4 separate regions of the Homo sapiens genome follow, and all the other regions are linked to region 1. Evidence: promoter capture Hi-C in human tissues and cell types (Jung and others, 2019). All regions are on one chromosome and are shown on one strand. Each heading gives the region's core, a stretch centred on a gene start or on the middle of the fragment in contact. The rest is flanking DNA. Distances are from core to core; before and after follow the strand shown. Region 1 holds the start of ZNF91 (zinc finger protein 91). Region 2 overlaps RPSA2 (ribosomal protein SA 2). Region 3 overlaps RPSA2 (ribosomal protein SA 2). Region 4 overlaps ZNF675 (zinc finger protein 675).

The links. The method cuts DNA at HindIII sites, captures the fragments that hold promoters and counts their contacts. A contact is called where the count stands out against the background at its distance.
Region 2: a contact is called between a fragment that was not itself captured here and the fragment with the promoter of ZNF91 in region 1, in 4 of the 25 tissues and cell types used here (H1 embryonic stem cells, mesenchymal stem cells, spleen and 1 more).
Region 3: a fragment that was not itself captured here is called in contact with the fragment with the promoter of ZNF91 in region 1 in 1 of the 25 tissues and cell types used here (mesendoderm cells).
Region 4: a fragment that was not itself captured here is called in contact with the fragment with the promoter of ZNF91 in region 1 in 1 of the 25 tissues and cell types used here (dorsolateral prefrontal cortex).

What each region holds. Positions count from the first base shown.
Region 1 is chr19:23,393,106-23,399,954 of GRCh38, reverse strand. ZNF91 (zinc finger protein 91) reads left to right here and starts at 4,484. Exons shown (of 4, transcript NM_003430.4): 1 at 4,484-4,630. The coding sequence starts at 4,601. LINC01224 (long intergenic non-protein coding RNA 1224) reads left to right here. Exons shown (of 5, transcript NR_126449.1): 5 at 1-722. RefSeq lists an enhancer at 4,214-5,082. The HindIII fragment of the contact is 10,945 bases long and covers 1-6,849 here.
Region 2 is chr19:23,827,834-23,834,682 of GRCh38, reverse strand. It overlaps RPSA2 (ribosomal protein SA 2), which reads right to left. Exons shown (of 4, transcript NM_001355283.3): 4 at 5,815-6,849. The coding sequence ends at 6,634. It also overlaps the pseudogene ZNF726P1. Among named protein-coding and RNA genes, the nearest start is that of RPSA2, 68 kb to the right of the region's middle. The HindIII fragment of the contact is 3,080 bases long and covers 1,900-4,979 here.
Region 3 is chr19:23,796,009-23,802,857 of GRCh38, reverse strand. All of the region lies in intron 1 of RPSA2 (ribosomal protein SA 2), which reads right to left. It also overlaps the pseudogene BNIP3P39. Among named protein-coding and RNA genes, the nearest start is that of RPSA2, 36 kb to the right of the region's middle. The HindIII fragment of the contact is 3,034 bases long and covers 1,715-4,748 here.
Region 4 is chr19:23,661,350-23,668,198 of GRCh38, reverse strand. It overlaps ZNF675 (zinc finger protein 675), which reads left to right. Exons shown (of 4, transcript NM_138330.3): 2 at 5,041-5,167; 3 at 5,990-6,085. Among named protein-coding and RNA genes, the nearest start is that of ZNF675, 22 kb to the left of the region's middle. RefSeq lists an enhancer at 1,594-2,334. The HindIII fragment of the contact is 3,871 bases long and covers 1,830-5,700 here.

The sequences.
Region 1 (6,849 bases), core at 3,235-5,734:
TTTCTAGGTTTCAACTGCAGCAGAGATTGTAACAAACCACTGGGCCCAGCCGCATAATGATGTTACTCTTTTGCCTTGGGCCTGCCCTCAGAAGGCACTGTCACATATTCATGGGCCCAACGCCAAGGTGATATGTGTCTCCAGCCTGGACCCTGCCCACAGGGGGCATTGTGACATATCTCTTGGCCCATCAGATGTTTGATTGTTATCCCCTCCCCTCTTCTACCCTGTGTTTGCCTATAAAAGACACAGTCATATGTTCCTGGGCCCAGCACCTAGGTGTTGTCTTACTGGAATGTGTCCACATGGGGATTGTGATATGTCACGTGGCCCAGTACTTAACTTGATGTGACTCTCCTCTCATGCCTAGGCCTTGTAGAGAATCCCCTTCCCCTTTTGTTTTCCTTTTTTTCTTTGCAGATCCAGGAGATAATCAACTAAGAGCCAGGCACCCGTTTAGGTCTAATAAACATTTTACAAACTGCTCTCTCTTTTAATTCACCTATCTGAGAGATTCCTCTGTACAATAAAACTTGGTCTCCACAATCCTTTACCTTAACCTAAACCTTCCCTTTCATTGATCCCAGGTCTTCAGATTCCACCACTTGTCAACCACAAAATATTTAAATTTACCTGGAAGCCGCCCGCTTTGAGTTGTCCCGCCTTTCTGAACCAAACCAATATATTCCTGCAAAACCGGCCATGATTAAAACATCAAAAAATAATACATGTTGGCGTGGCTGTGGTGAAAAAAGAATACTTTTTCACTGCTGGTGGGTATGTAAACTAGTACAACCACTATGAAAAACAGTATGGAGATTCATTAAATAAAAGTAAAGCTACCATTTGATTAAGCAATTCTACTACTGTGTATCTACATGAAGAAAAAGAAATTATATGTGTAAGACACTTGCACACACATGTTTATAGCAGCACAATTTGCAATTGCAAAAATATGGAAGCAGCCTAATGCCCATCAGCTAATGAGTGGAAAAAGAAAATGTGGCATATATATACCAATGCATACTACTCAGCCCTAACGAGGAATAAAATAATAGCATTTGCAGCAATCTCGATTTAGTTGGAGACCATTATTCTAAGTAACTCAGCAATAAAAAACCAAGCATTGTATGTTCTCACTTATAAGTGGGAACTAAGCTATGAGAATGCGAAGGCATAAGAATTATGTAATGGACTCTGGGTACTCAGCAGAAAGGGCGGGAGAGAGGGGTGAGGGATAAAAGACTACATATTGGGTACAGTGCACACTGCTTGGGAGATGGGTGCACCTAAATCTTAGAAATGATTACAAAAGAACTTATCCATGTGACCAAACATCACCTGTACCTTAAAAACTTTGGAAGTAATAATAATTACAAACAAAAACAAAAAAACACAAAACCCCGTAAGTTTAACTTTCTATGTTTTGGCTGTTTTGTTTTGTTTTGTTTAGAAAAGGTCTCTGTCACCCAGAATAGAGTGAAGTGGCTCAATGAGGGCTCACTGCAGCCTCGACTTCTGGGCTCATGCAATTTTCCTCCCTCAGCCTCCTGAATAGCTGGTACTAAATGTGCAGGCTACCATGCTCAGTTAATTTTTAAATTTTTTTTAGACATGTGTTTTTGCCATGTTGCCCAGGCTGGTCTCAAATTCCTGGGCTTAAACAGTCTTCATTACTTGCTCCCCCAAAGTGCTGGGATTATAAGCATGAGCCAACATGCCTGACTATAATTTTTTTATTTTATTTTACTTTTTATTTTTTGAGACGGAGTCTCACTCTGTCAGCAGGCTGGAGTGCAGTGGTGCGATCTCGGCCCACTGCAACCTCTGCTTACTGGGTTCAAGTGATTCTCCTGCCTCAGCCTCCTGAGTAGCTCAGACTACAGGAGCACGCCACCATGCCTGTCTAATTTTTGTATTTTTTAGCAGAGACAGGGTTTCACCATATTTGCCAGGCTGGTCTTGAATTCCTGACCTCATGATCCACCCACCTCAGTCTCCCAAAGTGCTGGGATTACAGGCGTGAGCCACTGCACCCAGCCCAGAATCTTTAATATGTTATAAAAAAGCTAACTATATTTAGATTCGTTTACAGAAAATTAAAAAAAAAATCTTTTATTAAATGTTAGAAGCAAATTTTTGATGCCGCAAAGGAAATAGTACTTGAATGTAAATTTTCTCAGCAAGACAATATTTACTTTTATAGAAGGGTGCATCTTGCGAATGGAGCAATGGCAAGAGCACACCTGAACAAGGGAGGGAAAGGAGTTCTTAGCCCTGATGCAGGTAGCCCCTACTGCTGTGTCATTCCCCTATTGGCTAGGGTTGGACTGCACAGTCTAAGCTAATTCCCATTGGCTATTTTAAAGAGAGGAGGAGTACAAGCCAGAGTGGTGGGGTGAGCAGTTTGGGTGGGAACTACTGTTATGGAACAGGTGACCAAGGTGACTCAGGTCAGAGCAGGTGACCAGGGGTGACTCAGGATGGAGCAGGTGACCAGGGGTACAGATGTAAACTACTGATTAGAACTGGCGGGAAGGTTGTTTACTAAAACTGGAGACAAAAACAACAAAGAAGTTAAACTTTAAAATGGAGAATGAAGAACAGGGAGCTGAATATACTGACATACTGATTCTTTGAAGAGCAATTTAGAACTCACTGTATTTAACATTAAAATATATAAATGTTTTTTATCTACAAATATTAATATAAAACAGTTCAAAATTACTTCCTAGGGATTTCACTAAAAATTAGTTTGTTAAGGGTTAATGTAATTAATAAAAGACCACTAGATGTAAAAAAACTAATTCTTCAAAGAGAATGTTTAAGGCCAGGTGTTGTGGCTCACGCCTTGTAATCCCAACACTTTAGGAGGCCGAGATAGGCAGATCATTTTGAGCTTAGGAGATCGAGACCAGCCTGAGCAACATGGCAAATTCCAGTCACTACTTCAAATAAGGAAATAAACCGGGCATGATCGCGCACGCCTGTAATCCCAGCTACTCCAGAAGCTGAGGCTGGAGAATCGCTTGAATCTGGGAGGTGGAGGTTGCAGTGAGCTGAAATCATGCCACTGCACTTCAGCCTGGGTGACAGAACAAGCTTCTCTCTTGGAAATTAAAAGAAAATAGAGAGAGTATAAACAAAAGCAAAATATGCTTTTGATGAAGAAAGTTAGAAACATTTGTCTGCTTTGAAATTACTTAAAGGTTCCTTCAAATTGAAAAAGTAAAAATAATGTAGATTAAAATGAAATATAAAAAGTTAAACAATGGACCGGCATCATGGCTTACCCATGTAATCCCACTACTTTGGGAGGCTAAGGCAGGTGGATCACCTGAGGCCAGGAGTTCGAGACCAGCCTGGCCAACATGGTGAAACCGCATCTCTACTAAAAATACAAAAAATTAGTCAGGTGTGGTGGTGCACCTGTCATCCCAGCTACTCCAGAGGCTGAGGGAGGAGAATCCCTTGGACCTGAAAGGCAGAGGTTGCAGTGAGCCGAGATCGTGCCGCTGGACTTCAGCCTGGGCCACAGAGCAAGACTCAGTCTCAAAAAAAAAAAATTAAAAAATTATAAGAGATCATAAAATATGTATAAAAATCTAGAGAGGTCAAAAAAATTTTAATGTATTTTTATTTTTATTTTTTGCTGGGGTGCAGTGGCATGATCTCAACTCACTACAACCTCCGCCTCCCGGGTTCAGGCGATTCTCCTGCCTCAGCCTCCGGAGTAGCTGGGATTACAGACGTGTGCCACCATGCTCAGCTAATTTTTATATTTTATTTTTCATTTTTTTGAAATGGAATTTCACTCTTATTGTTCAGTCTGGAATGTATTGGCGCGATCTAGGCTTACTGCAACCTTGGCCTCCCGGGTTCTAGCAATTCTCCTGCCTCAGCCTCCCGAGTAGTTGGGATTACAGGCACGCACCACCATGCTCAATAATTTTGTATTTTTAGTAGAGATGGGGTTTCACCATGTTAGCCAGACTGGTCTCGGACTCCTGACCTCAGGAGATCCACCTGCCTCGGCCTCCCAAAGTGTTGGGATTACAGGTGTGAGCCACGGCGCCCGGCTGAGAGACTTACAATGTTTTATCAAATTAGCTTTATTATTGATAATACACAATAAAGTAAAAGTTGATTTTCTCTGGAACAAAAATTTTATGTATTATTAATATACATCAAATATTTTTGTTCACATTTTGAATACATTGAAAGAGAGCAAAGAAGAGAGAGGATTTTCCCATGCTCTGAGGTGGGCCTGGCTGAGCTGAGGAAGCCCTGCCTGAAAAGGCTGCAGCCTACGCTGTCACTCTTTCTTCATTCAGCCCAGTGTCTGATCACATCTTCTGTCACTCAGGGCCTGAGAAGGCGGGGCCTTAAACGTTATCTAATCAGGGACGCTGGGCTGGGAACTGTCCAATCAGGCACAAAGCTGGAGCGGACAGGGCGGCTTCCGGGATGTGGCTGGGCCTTTGTCTCTCGCTGCCGCCGGAGTTTCCAGGTCTCGACTTCACTGCTCTGTGTCCTCTGCTCCAGGAGGCCCAGCCTGTGTGGCCCTGTGACCTGCAGGTATTGGAGAGCCACAGCTAAGATGCCAGGAACCCCTGGAAGCCTAGAAATGGTGAGACTGCCAGGTGCGACGTCCCGAGAGAGGGAACGGGGCTCGTTGAAACCGGTGGGATGCGGCTGTGGCGAGCCTCAGGCCTTCCTTCAGTCAGCTCCACAATCCGTGCCCGGGTTCTCCTTGCCCAGCTCGGCCTCAGTCCCCTTCAGCGATAAGATGGCGGCTGCGTTGACAGGCGGGCTCCGGGCGTCCTGTCTCTTCCCTGCCCAGTGACTGTGTCCTGGCCTGGAGCCCTCTCTGGGCAGCTCTGCTCCCGCAGCGCCGCGTCTCTCCCAGATTGTGCAGGGATCACGGGAGGGTCGTCAGGGGAGAATCCTGACTGGAGGTGCTGGCTCATGAATAGGAAGCACTTTAGTCCGTGGGGTTCCCAGGGCCTCTTTTTTTCTATTAAAAATTTATGGGCGTCACCGCGAAAAGATTAAATAATTTAATCAAAGAGTGATTCAAACATTGTAGAGCACCCAGCTATGGTTTGTAATTTGTGGTCTATGAAAGGCCTTGAAGGAGATATTTTTATAAGGTTCATGGTAAAGAAAACCAAATTCAGTAATTTGCTAGGTACAGTTATGTAGGTTTTGTTTTGTTTTGTTTTTTGAAAAGGAGTTTTGCTCTCTCGCGCGGGCTGGAGTGCAGTGGCGTGATCTCGGCTCACCGCAACCTCTGCCTTCCGGGTTCAAGCGATTCTCCTGCCTCAGCCCTAGTAGCTGGGATTACAGGCGCCTGCCACCACACCAGGCCAATTTTTTTATTTTTCGGAGAGACGGGGTTTCACCTTGTTGGCCAGGCTGGTCTGGAACTCCTGACCTTAGGTGATCCACCCACCTTGGCCTCCGAAAGTGCTGGAATTACAGGCGTGAACCACCGCACCTGGCCTAGTTTCTTAATTTTTACAATCTAGGTGGAAATATCCTTCTTATGTAATCAGAGCTTAATTGGCAGTTTATAGTTGCTTAAGCCTAAATTTTGCTTCTGCCAATGTAGTAATTTACCAAAAAATGCTCTTGAGTTTAGATTTTTATTTTTAGAAGTAGAAATCCGAGGACTAGAGCCACCTCAATCTAATTGCCTGCCACTTAATTTTTCTCACACTCAAAAGGGGACGATTTTTCCCTGAATTTTTTACATGTGTCTCAAGCAGGGCCTCAAGTCCACCCCTCATCCCCTGTTCCTCCAGCCTAACTCTGGCTTGCAGTAAAATACTAAATTTCCAGTTTCGTCTGACATTCCCAAATGCCAATTTCCCCTCCCTAATTCACTTTATCAACTATTTGTCCTGTAGTGTACATTTTGATACCGATTTTAATCATTTTTATTTTTAATTTTTGAGACAGAGCCTTGCTCTGTCACCCAGGCTGGAGTGCAGTGACGCACTAGGCTCACTACAACCTCCGCCTACTGGGCTCAAATGATTCTCCTCTCTCAGTCTCCCAAGTAGCTGGACTTACAGGTGCCCACGACCACGTCTGGCTAATTTTTGTATTTTTAGTACAGACAGGGTTTCACTATGTTGGCCAGGCTGGTCTCGAACTCCTGGCCTCAGCTGGTCTGCCCACTTCGGCCTCCCAAAGAGCTGGGATTACAGACGTGAGCCACCGCATCTGGCCAATTAATTTTTTTTTTGACAAAGCATTTGATGGCACATTTAAAAAGATTTGTTTTTTTTGGTAAATACTCCCTGTGAGAAGAAAGCAAAGAATAATCTCCTGACACTGTATGGTAAAATATCTCTGTGCGTTTTTTTCGTCTATTTTCCCTAGACGCAGCTATCTTACCAGAATGTTTTTGGGTCAGGTTTTCCTTTTGGAAACTGTATAGGGTGATGTGTCTTCAGTCACCCTTCAGTTTTTTCTTGGACCTAGATTTCAGTACTGTATGGGGATAAACCAAGATACCCACCATGGCTATGTGTGCTAGAGTGTCTAGTGAATATCAGCTTCTGGGTCATATTCTCTCATAGGACAACCTGAGGTATTGAGTTTAGCTTCTCAAGTGTGGACGTGGATGCCCTGAGGCTGAGAGGCATTTCCTGGTGCACTTTTTTTTAAAGTTAATTCCTTGAGACATTAATATTGCCTTCACCCAATTCAGCTTTCATTTCTTGGAGACACATTGCTGGCCAGCCAATCAGATACTAGTATTGAGGAGAAAACAAATAATTTCTGCCTCCTGGATTCCTTTAGGGGGCAGAAAAATAGTGCAAGAAAAATAGTAAAAAA
Region 2 (6,849 bases), core at 2,190-4,689, 440 kb before region 1:
AAGTTAATTTCACAAATAATTTATAATTTAAAAATATGCTGTATAGTATTCCATAAAAGTGCAATTAATAAAATAACATTACTAACCTAATTTTAACTAAAATTAAGAATATTTTTCTTTCATAATAATGTAGAAGAGTATTACTCTGAACACCTACCTCATGTATCACAAAATATTATAAGTTAACCACAAAGAGCCTCTCTACTTAAATTTTCATTATGCATCTTACATTTTAATGTCCTTACCTTTCCATAGAAAAGGTCATAAGTAATGCTTACCTAATAAACAAGAATCTCTCATATATTTTGTCCAGCAACAATTAGTCACATGCTTTCACATTTGAATAAACCAGGAATATGGAAGAGCATGAAGTAATTTAAGAGTTTAACTTCATTATTATTCACTTCGAAAAAAACCTGTATGTTCATAAAAAGTATAATTTGAATGTAATTATAACTCTCCAAAAAATATTCTACTTCTTTTAAAGTTATATACAAATAATGTTTATGCTATCTATAGTTTTGTATTATTTTTTATACGCAGCACTCTGATTTACAGTAGTGTCTAAACATTGAGTGGCCCTAGATATTTCTACTGTGGATTATTCTGATATTTACATAGACAATTTTGGATTAAATATCTTTCATCTTTACTGCACCTGCAAAAATATATTTTAGTATAAACTCTTTGGTGTTTTATAATTTGTAGTTTTTGAAAAAATGTTTTTCCAAATTTATTATATTTGCAGGGTTTTCTTCAATATAAACTCACTGATGTTGGACAAAATTTTAACAACTGCCTCAGGGTTTTCCTCTAGCACAAAATGTGTACAATAAGATTTCTGATACAAGTAAAGGTATTACAACCCTATTTATATTTGTAGTGCTTTTTTAAAGTAAATACTCTTCTGCACTTTAAAGACATATTTTCTAATAGATCTTTGGACAGTAATTACACTTTTATGCTTTTATTTCATATGAACTATCTGATTTTGAGTAAGATGTGAGCAGGTATTAATGGCTTTTTTACTTTATATTTGCACATTTGTTCTCAAGTATAAATGCTTATAAATGCTTTCCTGTGCAATAACGTGTGAGCATTAGTTAGAAGCTTGGCCACATTGTACACACTGATAGTTATCTCCAGTATGAATTACCTTACCTACAATCAAGTGTGACAATCATTTAAAGGCTTTGTCACATTCTTCACACTTCTAGGATTCTCAGCAGCATGATTTTCTTTATGTTTAGAAAAGCTTAAGTTGTTGTCAAAAGCATTGGCACATCTTTCAGGTTTGCAAAGTTTCTCTCCAGTATAAATAACCTTATGTCTGTAAAGAATTGAGGACTTTTTATAGGCTTTGACACATTATTCACACTTGTAATATTTCTCTTCAATATAAGTTATCTTATGTGCATTAAGTTGTAAGGATTAAAGGTTTGCCAAATTTTTCCCATTTGTAGGGTTGCTTTCAAGTATAAATTTTCTTATGTTTAGTTAGGGCTGAGGACCAGGAAAAGGCATTGGCACATTCTTCCCATTTGTAGGGTTTTAAACCAGTAAGAATTACCTTATGTTTAGTAAAGCTTGAAGACAGGTTAAAAGATTTGCCACATTCTTCACACTTGTAGGGTTTCTTTCCAGTATGAATTCTCTTATGGTTAGCAAAAATTGAAGACTGCCTAAAGGCTTTGCCACATTCTTCACACTTGTAGGGTTTTACTCCACTGTGAATTACCTTATGTTTAGTAAAGCTTGAAGACAGGTTAAAAGATTTGCCACGTTCCTCACATTTGTAGGGTTTCTCTCCAGTATGAATTCTCTTATGTGTAGTAAGGGTTGAGGACTGGCTGAAAGCTTTGCCACATTCTTCACATTTGTAGGGTTTCTCTCCAGTATGAATTATCTTATGTCGAGTAAGGATTGATGACTGGCTAAAAGCTTTTTCATATTCTTCACATTTGTAGGGTTTCTCTCCAGTGTGCATCCTCTTATGACCAGTTAGGGTAATGAACCATAGAAATGCTTTGCCACCTTCTTCACATTTGTAGGGTCTCTCCCAGTATGAATTACCTTATGTGTAGTAAGGTATGGGGACTGGCTAAAAGCATTGCCACATTCTTGACATTTGTAGGGTTTCTTTTCAGTATGAATTATCTTATATATAGTAAGGTTTGAGTTTTGGCTAAAAGGTTTGCCACATAGATTTGTTGGGTTTCTCTCCAGTGTGTATCCTCTTATGTCTAGTTAGGGTTGAGAATTGAATTAATGCTTTGCCACATTCTTCACATTTGTAGGGTTTCTGTCTAGTATGGACTCTCCTATGTTCAGTAAGGCCTGAGGACCAGATAAATGCTTTGCCACTTTCTTCACACTTGTAATGTTTCCCTCTAGTATGAATTCTCTTATGTTTCGTAAGGGTTGAGAACTGGGTAAACGCTTTGCCACATTCTTCACATTTGTAGAGTTTCTTTCTTCTGTGCATCCTCTTATATCTAGTTAGGGTTGAGGGCTGGCAAAATGCTTTGCCACATTCTTCACATCTGTAAAGTTTTTCTTCAGCACAAATTATTTTATGTGTAGTAAGGGTTGAGTGTTGCTTAAAAGCTTTGCCACATTCTTCACATTTGTAAGGTTTCTGTTCAGTATGAATTTTCTTATTATTAGTAAGGATTGAGGACCAATTAAAGGTTTTTCCACATTTTTTACATTTGTAGGACTTCTCTCTAGTATAAATGCTTTTATGTTGGGTTTTGTGTGAAAGCATGCAAAATGATTTGACACATTTTTGACATTTGAAAGGTTTTCTTCCAGTATATCTTATTTTTTGTTTGAATTTAAAAATTTATAAAGGACTTTCAAACATTTACCACATTGAAATACTTTGCTCTGAGTAGTTGTGAAACACTTGTTAAGTCCATTATAACCTTCTTTGTGCACCTGACACTCATCCACACTTTTACAGCCATTTCTCAACAGTAAATTATCATGTCCACATTTTTCATGTCTTCTCAGTATTACTTTTTAAAAGGAATCTTCCATGCCCTGCTCTGGCCAGAGGTCTTAAGCAAAATGAGGGCATATACCTAAAAAAATAAAAATAAAAATAATAAATTACTCCACCTACTAGACTCACATGGATATAGTTTTAAAATCTTACCTTTAAAATTATACCAAATACATAAACAAGAGGGCATTGCAAAATACCACAGGCTCTAATTCATTTATAGATATATAAATGTAACTAAAATATACAGACCCAAATACATCTGTAAAAAATTTATAAATAAGTGTGTGCAGTGTTCCAGGTGAGCACAAAGAAAAAAAGGAAGTGTTAAATTCACCCAACACAGCTTTTCCTGCTTTCCACTATAACGTAGTACCTTCAGAAGTAAATTCCTAACTCTTGGTTTCTGTTTTAAAAGAAAGCTAAAATACTGGCACATTCGTTGTTATTTCTGACTTTTAGGGACCTTTTCTGACACTTGTTTCAGTCTCTCATGACATAAAGTGCTGAAAGAAATGGTGGCATATTTTGAAATGAGAGTTTGAGTCAGCTGAGACCAAAAAAAAAAGTGGTAGAGCAGCAGACTGACAGCAGTACCACAGAAAAGGAACAGGTGTAGCAAGTGATTTCTGACTCCTACAAAATAACAAGAGTAAACTCTGTTAATTAAAAATTAAACACAAAATTTCAGACAGCACATATCCTAAGAATATGTGTGAGAAACTCCCATAATCACCAGCCAAAACAATTGTTTTCAGACTATGCCAGGACAGAACAACATTATAAAGATTTTGACAGGTAGCTTTTTTTAATGTCCAAATCACAATCAAAGATAAAATATACAAAATAGGGCAATATGATCCCAGCAAAAATATTATAAATTTTTCTGAAAGAAAGCATAAAAAAAATCAGAGGTATAAATTACTTTTAATAATTGGTAATAAATTGAATAGTTCTCATTGATTAAAATAGGAACAGAGACAACTATGGAAATTCAGAAAAATGAGGACAAGAACAAAAATATTTAAGATTTCAAAAAAACAAAAATTGTGGAGGTAAAAAAATTTAAAAAAAACTAATAGATCCTAAAAGAAAATATGATGTAAAAATAAAGAAGTACAACAAACTAGTATCACAGAAAGATATTTATAACAAACATGTATATAACCACAATTTCTAGTCAAAGACAAAAAGATTATCTTTGAAGCTGCAAGATAAAAGTGATGTGCCAGGCCAGGCATGGTGGCTCCTGCCTGTAATCCAGGCACTTTGGGAGGCAGAGGTGGACGGATCACCTGAGGTCAGGAGTTCAAGGCCAGCCTGGACAAGATGGTGAAACCCTGTCTCTACCAAAACGACAAAAATTAGCTGGGTGTGGTGGCACATGCCTGTAATACCAGCTACTCAGGAGGCTGAGGCTGGAGAACCACTTGAACCTGGGAAGTGGAGGTTGCAGTGAGTTGAAGTCATACCACTATGCTCCAGCCTGGCTGGGGGATAGAGAGACGTTTAGTCTCAAAAAAAGAACTATGTTATGGAGTCATGAAAAAGTTGTTAAAAAAAATACCTATTAAGTGAGAATTATACCATCAGTGAATCTATCCTGCCAAATAAAAAAAAAAAACCTTCCAAAGTAATGAAATTCTAAAAAAGTATATTGGAACTGCATATGCCCTACATATAAAAGGTGCTAACAACAGTTCCTTTTACTGAAAATAACATGATTCAAAAAGCTACACATAATTATATAAAAATACATTATTTTCTAGAAAAAATATGCAAATTCACTTTGTAGAATTTATTAGCATTATCCTAGTGACGCAGAAAACATTTTTAATTATTCTCTGAAATTTGAACAATAAAAGAATAGAAATCATTATAAACATCAGTTAATGAACATACAACATAAGATATAATTAGCAACATCAATGACAAATTTGAGGGAAGATGTAATAAAGAAGAATTTTTGTATGCAACCTGTTTTTCTACCAGATTAAAATGTATTGTTGTATCTTTTAGACATTATATGTAGTCCCCAAGGTACCACAAAAATATTTGTATAAATACACAAAAGAGGTTGGGCATGGTGGCTTATGCCTGTAATTCCAGCACTTTGGGAGGCCGAGGCGGGTGGATCACCTGAAGTCAGGAGTTCAAGACTAGCCTGACCAACATGGAGAAACCTCATATCTACTAAAAATACAAAATTAGCCAGGCATGGTGGCACCTGCCTGTAATCTCAGCTACTCAGGAGGTTGAGGCAGGTAAATTGCTTGAACCCAGGAGGCGGAGATTGCGGTGAGCCAAGATCAATGCCATTGCACTCCAGCATGGACAACAAGAGTAAAACTCAGTCTCAAACAAATAAATAAATAAATAAGCGAAAGCATATCAATGCAAACATCAAAAAGACACAAAGATGGAAAGAGAATAAGACACAAAGATGCAATAATCAAATAAAATGCATAATAAAATAACAGTAAGTCTAATAATTAAAAAAGACTGTAAGTGGCAGGATGGAAGTAGACATTCCATGCAAACATTAATCAAATAAGAGCAGAAAGAGTCAAAATAATATCACACAAGCTACATCTTAAGTCAGAAAGTATAATATTTTATAAAATGTGCTTGAAATTGAAACTCCAAAGAAACAAAGAAGGACATCAAAAAATAATAGATTCATTCACAGGGAATCTATGACAAATTTGTGTGTGTGTGTGTGTGTGTGTGTGTGTGTGTCTCACATTAGGGTTCCAAGTATATAAAGCAAATATTGACAGAATGGAAGAAACACACAGAAAGCAATATAATTAGAACAATATATTTTAATACCACACTTTTTGTAATAAAACTAAAACAAGAAAGAATGTTAATAAAAGAACAGACTACTTAAAGGCAGTATAAAACAATTATTCCAAACAGAGTTATGGAGAACACTCCTCAACAACATCAGAATACACACCCTTCTCAATAGCTCATACAACATTTCCCTTGAAAGACCACATCTTAGGACAAAAAGGAAGTCTTATCAAATTTTTTAAAAGTAAATTTCTATGAACTACATTCTATGACCAAAATGGAATGAGAATATACAACGATAAAAGCAAAAAAAAAAAACTGAAAAATTTACAAATATATAGAAACTAAACAACACACTCTTGAGTGTGCTCTTACACAAAGGTTGAAATACTTAATATTGCAGAGTCCATCCTGCTCAATGCAATCTACAGATTTAATGCAATATTTTTCAAATTTCTCATTGCATTTTTGAAGAAATAGAAACACCAACCTCAAAAGTATACAGAGACTCAAAAGAAAAACAAACTACCCAACAATATTAAAAAAAAAAAAAGAAAGAAAGAATGCTGCAGGCATTAAAGTGCCTGATTCAAAACACATTACAAAGCTACCAAATTAAACAATTTGATATGAGTATAAAGGTGAAAAAGTAGACTAATAAAATAGAATGCAGCACATATATAAACTTTCACATATATGGTCATATAAGTAGTCATTTATAGACTCATAATTATTGCAGCATTTTTTTTTTTTTTTTTTTTAGAAACTGATGTTTATTTTCCATCAACCATTTTTCCATGCTGCTTAAGAGCCTATGCAAGAACAGCTTAAGACCAGTCAGTGGTTGCTCCTACCCATTCAGTGGCCTGAGCAGTGGGAGCTGCAGACCAGTCTTCCGTGGCAGGCTGAGCGCTCCAGTCTTCAGTAGGGAATTGCTGAATAGGCACAGAGGGCACCTGTACACCTTCAGACCAGTCTGCAACCTCAGGCTGAGTAGCAGTGAACTCAGGAGAGGGAGCAGTCCATTCACCCTGAAATTCCTC
Region 3 (6,849 bases), core at 1,982-4,481, 400 kb before region 1:
TATCCCATATTTTTGCACATGTCTATTTATTGTACCCACCATATGATGCATAATTAAATCATTTATCCAGTTGATAGTCAAGACTAAAAGTTCTTGCATGGTAGGGACCATGACTGCTTCATCTATTTTTCTAATGACTATATGAAATGGAATCAATTTATCTGTTTGAGTCTCCAGACCTCCTCCTTGTTTTTCACTCAAGTACCAGGGAACCAGAGAAACTCTCATCTGGGTACCAACCAAAGACATCTCTTGTATGATGGGAGGAACACACACCAGATGATTCATTTCTTTTACAGTAAGACAGAAGCAAAATTAACCACTCTTGTCAGCCTGACACAATTGTTCTGGAGATTCTCAAATGTCTCAGATGCCTGGGTGATTGTGAGAGCATTTCCAGTGACCCTGGGCTGATGGACCAATAATAAGCCAGCAGGAGAGACTCAGGCTGATTCTAAAAAGAAAATGAAACTATCCTGGTGGAGCTCCAGAACCTGGATCTCCTGTCCTGATTAGCTAGCTTTTGGACAATAACACTCTAGTATCACATTTTCCAGGTAGCTATAGTTGTGCTCAGGGCTCTGGCTACTTTGTGGCCTTGATCTCTCACTCCTAAGATGCTTGTTTACACTTAGAGATTCTGCCATCAGATTCTATTTAAACCTGTAGCCTCTCACAGAAAGGTAGCAATGTGAAAAGGTCAAAGAGTCACACTCTCAAAGGAGGGATCTGAAGTGTCTATGTGGACATCTCACAATGCAGAAAATGCCTCCTGTTGGTTTTCTGTACATTCTCAATCTAAAGTCTGGCCCTGTCTTGTAAATTCCAGGCAGAGACCAGACCTTATGTGCAGATTCTAGATAAAATCAACATCACTTTGCATTTTTGGCTGTTACAGCGAGTACAATCAAAGGAGAAATCTACTCACAGAGACTGCTCTAGAAAATTCTAAATAATATTTTACCTAAAAAAAAGCTGACACAACATGAATATAAGTACACAGTTTATTGGGGCCAAGCTTAAGCATTGTAACTTGAGAAGAAATATTCAAGATGCCTGGAATCTATACTGATTAGCAGCAATTACAAGTGGATTTGTGAAGGGAAAAAAAGAAGAGAGATAGAGAGTGGGGTGATACAAACTAGTTTGTGAGAAATTCTTATTTGTTTAAATAAATAACTTATTATTGGTTTAACTTATACCTACTTTTGGCAATAGTGAACAGCTTCAAGAGATCAATATATAGTTGAAAGTAGGGAGAAAGACATAATTGTGCTCTTATTTTAATGTCTGAGTTTTATAAGTAAAAAGACTGGCAGACAGCCACAGTGGCTCACGCCTGTAATCCCAACATTTTGGGAGGCCGACGCAAGTGGATCACGAAGTCAAGAGATCGAGACCATACTGGCCAACATGGTGAAGCCCATGTCTGCTGAAAAAAGTAATACAAAATTAGCCAGGTGTGATGGCACATGCCTGTAATCCAAGCTACTCGGGAGGCTGAGGCAGGAGAATAGCTTGACCTGGGAGGAAGAGGTTGCAGTGAGCCGAGATCACGCCACTGCACTCCAGCCTGGTGACAGAGCAAGACTCCATCCCCCCCAACCCTCCCCTAAAAAAAAAAAGACTTGCATTTCTCAAATGAAACTTTTGTTTTGTTTTGTTTTTTAATTTCTAGACCTAGATTTAGAATTTGGAGCTGCAGATTTAGGTCCTGGATGGGTGGAGTAGCAGCAGGTGTTACCTGCAATTGTGAGCATTTTAGCAAGAGGAGAAAAAGAGAAGTGGAGATTCTCATGTCTCCATGTCTACTCAATGCACACTTGTTACACTGATTGGGTTTCTGGGCTCCATGGTCTCTGAATCAGTTTCAGGTCTGAAGATACAAGAGTCATTGAAAGAAGTAAAATGGTTAATATCTGCCCTATTAAGTTTGTAGAAATCTAGGCCAGGTGAGGTGCCTCACACCTGTAATCCCAGCACTTTGGGGGCTAAGGTGGGTGGATCACCTGAGGTCAGGAGTTCAAGACCAGCCTGACCAATATGGAAAAACCCTGTCTCTACTGAAAATACAAAATTAGCCAGGCTTGGTGGTGCATGCCTGTAATCCCAGCTACTCGGGACACTGAGGCAGGAGAATCACTTAAACCCAGGAGGTGGAGGCTGCAGTGAGCTGAGATTGTGCCACTGTACTCCAGCCTGGGCAACAAGAGTGAAATTCCATCTAAGAAAAAAAAAAAAAGTTTGTAGAAATCTGCTCTAGCCCCTCTAGAAGTGACTGTGGAGGACTATAGATACCAAATAGGCAGAGACACAATTCTGCCTGCATATTTAGGTGACAGTATGCACTTTACAGCATAACTGTGAGTTGGCTAGAAGCCTGAGAGGGAAAGTCCCCTCTAGAGTAAAGCTTGGTTGGCACCTTATTTGTTTATATTATGTCCGGTAATTCTAGGAAATATAATTTTAAAAAAATTCTCTTCAGCCCCAGAGAAACCACAATAATAGAAAAGAAAGAGGTTGGGCATGCTGGCTTACACCAGTAATCCCAGCTTTGGGAGGCCAAGGCGGGTCGATCATGAAATCAGGAGATAGAGACCATCCTGGCTAACACGGTGAAACCCCATCTCTACTAAAATAAAAAAAAATAAAATAAAATAAAAAAGACGGGCATAGTGGCATGTGCCTGTAATCCCAGCTACTTGGGAGGCTGAGGCAGGAGAATCACTTGAACCTGACAGGCAGAGGTTGCAAAGAGCTGAGATCACACCACTGCACTCCAGCCTGGGAAATACAGCGAGACTCTGTCTCAAAAAAAAAAAAAAAAAAAGAAAAAGAAAACTCTTTCATTACACAATTAAATCTGAATGTCAAATGTATTACAGTCAGTCTGCTTAAGAGATCGAAAAGACATAAAGATGGTTACCATAAATAGTTCACAAGTAGAAGAATTCACAGCACCATGTCATACATAGTTCATCCTAAATTCACCTGGACATTGGGGAGGTCATCCATATATGCTAATTGGTTATATTCAATGACAAAATAACCTTTTCACATCTTCCTGACAAGATAGTTCTGCAACTTGAAGCCAGCTGCCTGCTGAAGGCAGACTTTCACTCTTCTACAAAAGTGGTTGAATAGGGTGCTATCTTTTTGGCTACTTGCATTTTAAAGCAGTACCTCTCTCCTCCCTGAGGACGGGGTTACAGTACTCCGGCTTCCCCTCTTCTGGTGGCCAGTGTCCTCTTTTGTTTCCTACCATCTGCCACTGCGGTATGGACCACAGCACAGGGCTCACAGCTGGCAGCTCACATCATAGGTGAACGCCAATTGCCATAGCAGCACTTTAGTGTCACATCAAAGAGTGAAGCCTGAGCTGCAGGAAGAGAGCCTCCCTGGGTAGAACTGCACCTTCACAATAACGGAAATGAGAGCATTATTTAAGCCACAGTTTCTATTTATAATGGTGACATGGAAAATATACTGCTAGATTTCCAGCATGCATCCAGATAGAGATAGCTCCAAGAGTTCTCACTGTGACAGCCACGTCTTTCACAGACATTATGGGATACTAATAGGGCTTCTAAAACAGATACACAAAGCATTCTACAGAAAAACAGCTCTCACTCTGAGAAAGATTATATTGAGAGAAAAAAAAGAAGTTAAAAGCATCTTAAGAAAAAACTGAAATTAGATATAAGATTGATCAAGTCAGCCAGAAAATATTCCTGCAAAAACAATTTCTCTCTAAATACCCAAAGTGCATAGCTACTCTCAGCATGAGAAACATGAGTATTATGAAGAAAAGAGGTATATTATCAGCAGAATCATAAAATATTTTTTCTATCTCTGCTGCTCTCTAATTTTCTAGCCTTTGAATGCAGAATCTATATTCAAATATATCTGACAACTTCCACCAGCACTTTGATAAAAAATTAAAATCTGACTGTGTTAATATAGTGGAATATACATGAACCTGCAAGGTAGCTAACTGGAGAGCTACTACAGTTTTTGGGTGGCCACATCATCTGTCTTTATTTGTCCTACAATAGCAGCATTCCAATTTGTGAAATGAAAGACATTGAAATTATGCTTACTTATAATTATCTCTATTGGTTAAATTAATAAGCATAGCAGACTAATATCTACTGTAACAATGTGGTAGTAAAATTTCTTTGGATATTAGATATAAATATGTAAGTAGGAATAATTTTAACATACTAGTCATAATGTATGTAGGATTTTTTAAAAAATTTCTGTAACTGTATTTCAATTGAAAAACTTTACATTTCAAAAGTATGAATCACAATAATAAAAGAATTAAGGAATTCATTCAAAGTAGACATTGTGGCTTTATATTCATACTATTGTAGAAAATACTATTAAATGTATATGAATGCAGGTTGTCTAACAACACCACACATAACTATGCTAATTGTACTGAAGTAATAAATAGAAACCAAGGTATGACAATATACTCCACTGTTCAGTTTATAAACTGTACTATTTTTGCTTTTGTAGTGTAAGTACTTCAGCCTGTAAATAATCATGTTGGATAAACAGGTTTCTGTCAATCAAATTACCAATATCTTTTAGTCCTTATAATTCTGTTTTGCTAAATTTAATCCTATTTTTATGCTAAACTTTTGTGTGCTCTTGGAATGAGTTTTACTGTGAACAAATCTGTGTCAACTTTAAAAGACTAAAAATAATAAGAATAACCTTTTGCCAAAGCAGAAACAAAGCAATTAATCTCAGGTCCCAGATAAAGACAATCGTGAGTAAAAAAAAAATAAATACATAACAAAGATTTATTTAGCTGTTAATGATTTACATATATTTCAAAAAAAGGAGATAAAAATCTACACATAATCTAAGTGTTTTAAGAAAAGAGATTTTAGTAAGATATTTTCTCTTATTTTTATGTGGACTAATTAAGCCTCTTATTTCTAATTTATATTTTCTTTTACAACAGCTAGGTCTCTAAACATGTTCTTGAACTCATGGACATCTACATTTTGCACATTGTGCACACAGGAAAGAATGTTTACGGAAGAAAAAGCAGAAAAGAGAAAGGTGTTATATAAAATTCATGGGTTCATATGAATAAAGCAAGTTCTTAGAGACCTATGAAGAGATTTAGATTCTGACACAACAATAGTGGGAGACTACAACATCCCACAGGCACTAATAGACAGATAACTGAAGAAGAAAATTAACAAAACATTAGAACCTAAACTCAACACTTGACCAAATAGTCCTAATAGACATCTACAGAACTCTTCAGCTTGACAAAAATATAATTCAACAAAAAGAAAACAACTTGAAACCATACAATTACATAAAAATTAAACAACCGGCACTTGAATAACTTCTTGATAAATAATGAAATTAAGGCAAAAACCAAGAAGTTCTTTTAAACAAATAAGAACAAAAAAACAGGCCAGGGCTGGGCATGGTGGCTCATGCCTGTAATCCCAGCACTTTGGGAGGCCGAGGCAGGCAGATCATGAGGTCAGGAGTTTGAGACCAGCCTGGCCAAGATGGTGAAACCCCATCTCTACTAAAAATACAAAAATTAGCCCATCATGGTGGCACATGCCTATAATCCTAGCTACTTGGGAGGCTGAGGCCAGAGAGTCGCTTGAACCTGGAAGGCAGTGGTTGCAGTGAGTTGAGATCGTGCCATTGCACTTGGCCTGGGCAGCAAGAGCGAAAATCCATCTCAAAATAAATAAATAAATAAATATAAATAAAAATAAAAAACCAACACATCAGAATATCTGCAATACTGCTAAAGTAGTGTTAAAAGGGAAATTTATAGCATTTAATGCTAAAAAAGTTTGAAAGATCTTCATTTGACAACCTGACATCATAAATAAAAGAATGAAAGAAGCAAGAGCAAATCAATCCCTAAGCTAGCAGCAGACAAGAAATAACCAAAATCAGTATCAAGAAATCCAGGAATTAAGTCTATGAAAAAAAAAATAAGATAAATAAACCACTAGCTAGATTAATGAAGGAAGAAGGGATGATCCAAATAAACACAATTAGAAATAACAGGAGACATTACTATTGACCCCACAAAAATATATTTAAGTCTACTATTAATACCTCTGTGCACACAAACAAGAAAATCTAAAAAAAATGAAAATATTATTGAACAAATACATCCTTCCAAGAATGAACAAAAAAGAAATCAAAGCCCTAAATAGATGAGTAAGAAGCTCAAAAATTGAATTAGTAATAAAGAGCCAACCAACCAAATAAAGCCAAGGACCAGACAGATTCACAGCTGTGTACAAAAAAGTGCTGGTATTATTTCTACTGAAACTATTTTAAGAAATTAAGAAAAAGTAACTTTTCTCCAACTTATTATATAAGAACAGCATTATTCTGATACTGAAACCTGGCTGAGATTAAAAAAAAAAAAATCAGGCCAATATCTTTCAACATTCATGCAAAAATCCTCAACAAAATACTGACAAACCAAATTTAGCAGCATATCAAAAAAGCTAACCCACGATGATCAAGTAGAATTTATTTTGGGAATGCAAGGTTGGTTCAACATACACAAATCAAATCAATAAATGTGATTCATCACATAAACAGAACTAAAGACAGAAACCACAAGATTACCTCAATAGATGCTGAAAAGGCTTTTGATAAAATATAACATCTTTTATGTTAAAAACTCAAAAACCTAGGCATTAAAAGTACATACTTTACAATAATAAGTTATTTATGACAAACTCTCAGCCAACATACTGAATGGACAAAACCTGGAAGCAGATGGGTGCAGTGGCTCATGCCTGTAATTCCAGCACTTTGGGAGGCCAAGGCAGG
Region 4 (6,849 bases), core at 2,516-5,015, 270 kb before region 1:
CAATCGGCACTCTGTATCTAGCTCAAGGTTTGTAAACACCAATCAGCACCCTGTGTCTAGCTCCTCAGGGTTTGTGAGTGCACCAGTTGACACTGTATCTAGCTGCTCTGGTGGGGCCTTGGAGAACCTTTATGTCTAGCTCAGGGATTGTAAACACACCAATCAGCACCCTGTGTCTAGCTCAGGGTTTATGAGTGCACCAGTCGACACTCTGTGTCTAGCTGCTCTGGTGGGGCCTTGGAGAACCTTTATGTCTAGCTCAGGGATTGTAAATACACCAGTCGGCACTCTGTATCTAGCTCAAGGTTTGTAAACACACCAATCAGCACCCTGTGTCTAGCTCAGGGTTTGTGAGTGCACCAGTTGACACTGTATCTAGCTGCTCTGGTGGGGCCTTGGAGAACCTTTATGTCTAGCTCAGGGATTGTAAACACACCAGTCGGCACTCTGTATCTAGCTCAAGGTTTGTAAACACTCCAATCAGCACCGTGTGTTTAGCTCAAGGTTTGTGAGTGCACCAATTGACACTCTGTATCTAGCTGCTCTGGTGGGGCCTTGGAGAACATTTATGTCTAGCTCAGGGTTTGTGAGTGCACCAATCGACACTCTATCTAGCTACTCTGGTGGGGCCTTGGAGAACCTTTGTGTCGATACTCTGTATGTAACTAATCTGCTGGGGACGTGGAGAACCTTTGTGTCTAGCTCAGGGATTGTAAAGGCACCAATCAGCGCCCTGTCAAAGCAGACCACTCGGCTCTACCAATCAGCAGGATGTGGGTGGGGCCAGGTAAGACAATAAAAGCAGGCTGCCGGAGCCAGCAGTGGCAACCCGCTGGGGTCCCCTTCCACAGTGTGGAAGCTTTGTTCTTTAGCTCTTTGCAATAAATCTTGCTACTGCTCACTCTTTGGGTCCACACTGCTTTTATGAGCTGTAACACTCACCATGAAGATCTGCAGCTTCACTCCTGAAGCCAGTGACACCACGAGCCCACCGGGAGGAACAAACAACTCCAGATGCACTGCCTTAAGAGCTGTAACACTCACCGCGAAGGTCTGCAGCTTCACTCCTGAGCCAGCGAGACCACGAACCCACCAGAAGGAAGAAACTCCGAACACATCTGAACATCAGAAGGAACAAACTCCAGACGCGCCACCTTAAGAGCTGTAACACTCACCACGAGGGTCCGCGGCTTCATTGTTGAAGTCAGTGAGACCAAGAACCCACCAATTCCGGACACAGTCTCAGAAAAAGGACAAAAACAATAGGACTCAGAAAAACAAACAGACGAAAGGTCTCAGGTCCCTCACCCAAACTGTGAGGTGGTAGTCAGGCACTTGCACGTGGAAACCTTTCAGTTTCATCAAAAAGTGGCCCTGGGTTGGGGGGAGGGGAGGAGAGAGAGAGAAAGAGAGAGAAAGAGAAAAAGAGAGAAAGACTTCCCTGTATGTAAAAGGAGAAAGGAAAAAATTAAATCCAATACTTTGGGCCTACCTCCTCTCCTGCCTGGCTCACCAAAATAAGTTACCAGTAGAGGGTCTTGACTGCAAGTTGTCCAGATTCTTGGCCTTTTGAACAAAGAATTGGATGAAACAGCAAAGCAAGAAAAGAATGAAGCAACAAAGGAACAAAACGGGTTTATTGAAAATGAAATTACACTCTGCAGTGTGAAAGTGGGCCCGAACAATGGCTTAAGGTCCCAGACAACAGAATTTTCTTGGGTTCAGATATCCCCTAGAGGTTTCCCATTGGCCACTTGGTGCTCACCTCATGTAAATGAAGTGGTGGCCCACAATTGCTCTGATTAGTTGCAGGAAGAAACCAATCAGATGCTGAAGCAAAGTTAAAAAGGTCACAATCCTCTGCAAATATCCAATTGATTGCAAAAGCAACCAATTAGAGGCTAAGGTGAAGTTACAAAGTGTCACTTTTATTCAAATAGAGACTCAGCCCACAATCAGTCTGAATGGTTGTGGACAGCCAATTTCCTATCTGCCTCACAGAAAAGGTGGGGATTTGCAAAGGCAGTAGCCTCTGGTCTTTTTGTTACTTAGGCATGGAAAGTTAGTTTTCCTTTCCATTTAGGTCTAGGAATTCGGTGTGAAATGGTCTTAGGTTCCCTGCCTCCAGACCCTATTCTCTTGCCTCATTAGTACATGTGTACCTCATGGTTTCCACATGCAGACTTATTTAGATGTTGCTGCCTTCTGTTTATTCTGTAAACTTTAAAGAGCCAGCAAAGAATATGAAAATTGGTAGTCTTCATTTGAGAAGTATTTGTGTTGTAACAAGAGTGCTGAGTGTAAGGGACTCCATGCTGTGCCTGCTTTCTCTAATGCTAATCATGAGCCCCAGAAAAGCAATTGATAGGGAACATTAATGGGTTTAAAATACCCATTAATGGCTGGCTGCCATGGCTCATGCCTTTAATCCCAGCACTTTGGGAGGCCAAGTTGGGCGAATCACTAGAGGTCTGGAGTTTGAGACCAGCCTGACCGACATGGTGAAACCCTGCCTCTACTTAAAATACACAAAAAATTAGCTGCTTGTGGTGGCAGGCGCCTGTGTTATCCCAGCTACTCAAGGCTGAGGCAGGAGAATCGCTTGAACCCAGGGGGCGGAGGTTGCAGTGAGTCGAGATCACGCCACTGCACTCCAGCCTGCGCTACAGAGCGACACTCCATCACACACACACACAAAAACCCAAAGAACAAAAAAACCACTCATGAACCCTAAGTCTGCAGAATTACATCACAGAGAGTGGAGCCACAGTTTCCAAGTATTTTTTAAGCCCATTAAAGCTTTAAAGGCAATGCCCAGCTAAGTGGTTTTCAGCCCAGGTTTGATTTTTTTTTTTGAGGTGGGGTCTTGCTCTGTGCCCAGGCTGGAGTGCAGTGGTGCGATTTCAGCTCACTGCAACCTCCACCTCCTGGGTTTAAGCGATTCTCCTGCCTCAGCCTCCTGAGTAGCTGGGATTATAAGCAAGTGCCACCTCGGCTGGCTAATTTTTGTATTTTTAGTAGAGATGGGGTTTCACCATGTTGGCCAGGCTGGTCAGGAACTCCTGACCTCAAGTGATCCCCCCGTCTTGGCCTCCCAAAGTGCTGAGATAACAGGTGTGAGCCACCATGCCCAGCCCAGGTTTCTAATTAAGATTACATGGCCAGTTTGCAGAAATATCTACTTGTGCCCTATCCACAGGTCTGTTTATTCTTCTGGGCGGAGGTATCATGTTTTGTTTTTTGTTTTTGAGACGGAGTCTCACTCCGTTGCTCAGGCTGGAGTACAGTGGTGCGACCTGAGGTTACTGCAACATTCGCCTGCCAGGTTTAAACGATTCTCCTGCCTCTGCCTTCCAAGTAGCTGAGATTACAGGCACGTACCATTATGCCTGGCTAATTTGTGTATTTTTAGTAGAGATGGGGTTTTGCCATGTTGGCCAGGTTGTTCTCAAATTCCTGGCCTCGAGTGATCTGCCCACTTTGGCCTCCCAAAGTGCTGCGATTACAGGTGTGAGCCACTGTTCCCGCCCATGTTGTTTTAATTAAGTGCCTCTTGTGACTCTAACATGAGGCCAAAATCAAGTATGAGGGGTTCAAGATATATTCATGAGAGTTCTACCTTTGCTCTAAAGAATGGTCAAAGGGCTGGTTCTGTTTGGTTTGGTAGTGACAGGAAAGTGTGGTCCGTATTTTCATTGCTGTAGCAGAAATTGCTGATGTCCATGGCAGGGGAGGACACCTGAGGACAGAAGAAAAGGAACTTTTACTTTTATCTCCGTGGAGCAGCTCATGGTTCCTGAATCGCTTCTGGTATGAAGGACAGAAATGGGTGGACTTTTTCTGTGAGTCTTGGTCCTTCTGCCTGTGAGTGTGGTGGTACCAGGTAAACATGTGGTGCTGATACCTTTAAAGGCATATTCTCCAGATGCAGGTGTAATTTGTCCAGAGAATCGCATGTGAAAAGAATTTTCAGAGAAAGGAAAAAATGGCTTTTTTTCAGTTAAACATGTCTCAGATCAAGAGCTGTGTCCGCTCTGCCTCCTGGAATGCCATGCGTTTAGTACTTGCAAACTTTGACTTCTCTACTTGGGTTTTTTCTCCCTAATGAATTTGTTTTAACTACTTATAAAAACTCTTATGATAGTCAAGAGTCTCTGAAAAATACTTCTTTTCCATATACCAGAGGCTTCTCTACATCATGACTTCTTATATGCCATGCAGAATTCTCACGATTATTTTATAATCTGCAATATTAAAAATGTTACCTGTGGCTATTGAACATGCAAAGGTGTAGATAACTCAACATTTCTATTGGGAAAACCTGCGGTCCTTAGTAAAAATGGAGAACATCTAATGTTGAGGCTCCATCTGTGTTCTCAATTAGCTATTATTTAAACAAGATAGCATTTATTACACAGAAGCTTGTGAAGCACTCAAAAAGCTACGTGTTTGTGTTTATGCCCTTAATTATGTATTTTTTTGAGATGGAGTCTCACTCTTGTTGCCCACGCTGGAGTGCAATGGTACGATCTCAGCTCACTGCAATCTCCACTCACCACAGCCTCCACCTCCCAGGTTCAAGCCATTCTCGTGATTCTCCTGCCTCAGCCTCCTGAGTAGCTGGGATTACATGCATGCGCCACCACGCCTGGCTAATTTTGTATTTTTAGTAGAGATTGGGTTTCTCCATGTTGGTCAGGTGGGTCTTGGAACTCCCGACCTCAGGTAATCTGCCCGCCTCGGCCTCCCAAAGTGCTGGGATTAAAGGCATGAGCCACTGTGCCTGACCTATTATATATGTTATTATTTAGAAAATTATTATATATACACTGGTGTTGTGGCTCTTGTGCCACTCTGTTTTCTCAGGGTTAGAGAACACATTAGGAAATATTTCTGTGTAAAAAATATGATTTTATTGGATAATTTCAGTCACTCCTATAAATCAGAACCTGTTCTCTTTAGTCTCTCATTTTACCTTGAGTCAAATTATAATCTCTGTTGGCTACCTGGTGAATATGTTTGTGTGTATGTGTTTTTCAGGGACTGTTGACATTTAGGGATGTGGCCATAGAATTCTCTCTGGAAGAATGGCAATGCCTGGACACTGCACAGCGGAATTTATATAAAAATGTGATTTTAGAGAACTACAGAAACCTGGTCTTCCTGGGTAAGGATAACTTAAACACACAGTTTCTTTTTTTTTTTGTTTTTCTTTTGAGACGGAGTCTGGCTCTGTCACCAGGCTAGAGTGCAGTGGTGCGATCTTGGCTCACTGCAACCTCCGCCTCCTGGGTTCAAGCAATTCTCGTGCCTCAGCCTTCCAAGTAGCTGGGACTACAGGCGTGAGCCACCATGCCTAGCTAATTTTTTTTTGTATTTTTGGTAGAGACAGGGTTTCACCATGTTGTCCAGGCTGGTCTCGAACTCGTGACCTCAGATGAGCCATTCGCCTCGGCCTCCCAAAGTGCTGGGATTACTGGTGTGAGCCACCATGCCTGTCCCAACAGACAGTTTCTAATATACCGTAAAGGTTTCATTTCTCTTCTTTGTAGAATATATTTTGGTAATGTATGCTTTGCATAAATGAGTTTCAGATCCCTGTTTTTGAGAAAATCTTAAGGATTTGTCTGTATAGAGAAGAATTTCTTTAGTATGTTTCATCTTGATCTGAACTTAACACATTCCTGAGCTGATCTGTGTCCTTCACTCTAGTGGTAATTTCAGAAGTTTAGTGGCATAAAATATTGTTGCCCACACCTTAAAATCTAATTGCCAACACCAAGTTTTGATTCAGTAGTACTGGGTAGTGAAATTAAGAACCTACAAATTTAGAATATTTTCTAAGTATTTAAAAATTTCTGTTATAAGTCAGTATTTTGGGATTAATTTACTAGACTATTCCATTACATTCTCTTTACTGAGCACATTACTAGGTTGGTAATTGGAGAATATGAGCAAAATTAATGTTATTTATTTTTTAATAAAACAGGTATTGCTGTCTCTAAGCAAGACCTGATCACCTGTCTGGAGCAAGAAAAAGAGCCTTTGACTGTGAAGAGACATGAGATGGTGAATGAACCCCCAGGTAAGTGAGAATGAAAGTGAATACAACAGGTGACACTGATGAGAGGTCCAAAGGTCAAAGAGAAAGCCAGTCCTTAAAATGTGATTTGGGAAGCCGTGTTTTAAAGGAAATAATTTCTGGAAAGCCTGAGTATTTTATGCTCTCACATTTGAGCATTTTCTGTCTTATGCTTTTAAATTCTCTAAGGTTTCTGTTTACATTTTTGGTAATTTTCCTTTAAGTTTTCGGTGAGAACCAGTGTCCGCTTCATGGCATACAAGAGACTGTGCAATCTGAATCCTTACTCATTTTTTTTGGAGGCACAGAAATACCTACATAATTTTGAGAAACTGTTAAATGATTTTTTAAGTTCTTTTTTTCCATCTTGTCTGAAACGTATGAGAAGTGGTTTCTTTTCTATTGTTTTCTTTCCTTCTTTTTTTTTGAGACAGAGTCTTGCTCTGTAGCCCAGGCTGGGGTGCAGTGCTACAGTCTGGACTCACTGTAACTTTTGCCTCTTGGGTTTAAGTAGTTCTCCTGTCTCAGCCTCCCAAATAGCTGGGATTACAAGCACGTGCCACCACACCCGGCTAATTTTGTGTTTTTAGTAGAGATGGGGTTTCACCATGTTGGCCAGGCTGGTCTCAAACTCCTGCCCTCAGGTCATTTGCTTACCTTGGCTTCTCAAAGTGCTGGGATTACAGGTGTGAGCCACTATTCCCCGCCCTTTTTTTTTTTCATTTTTCTACACATTTTACTTGTTTGTATTTCTATAGTCTTCTAAT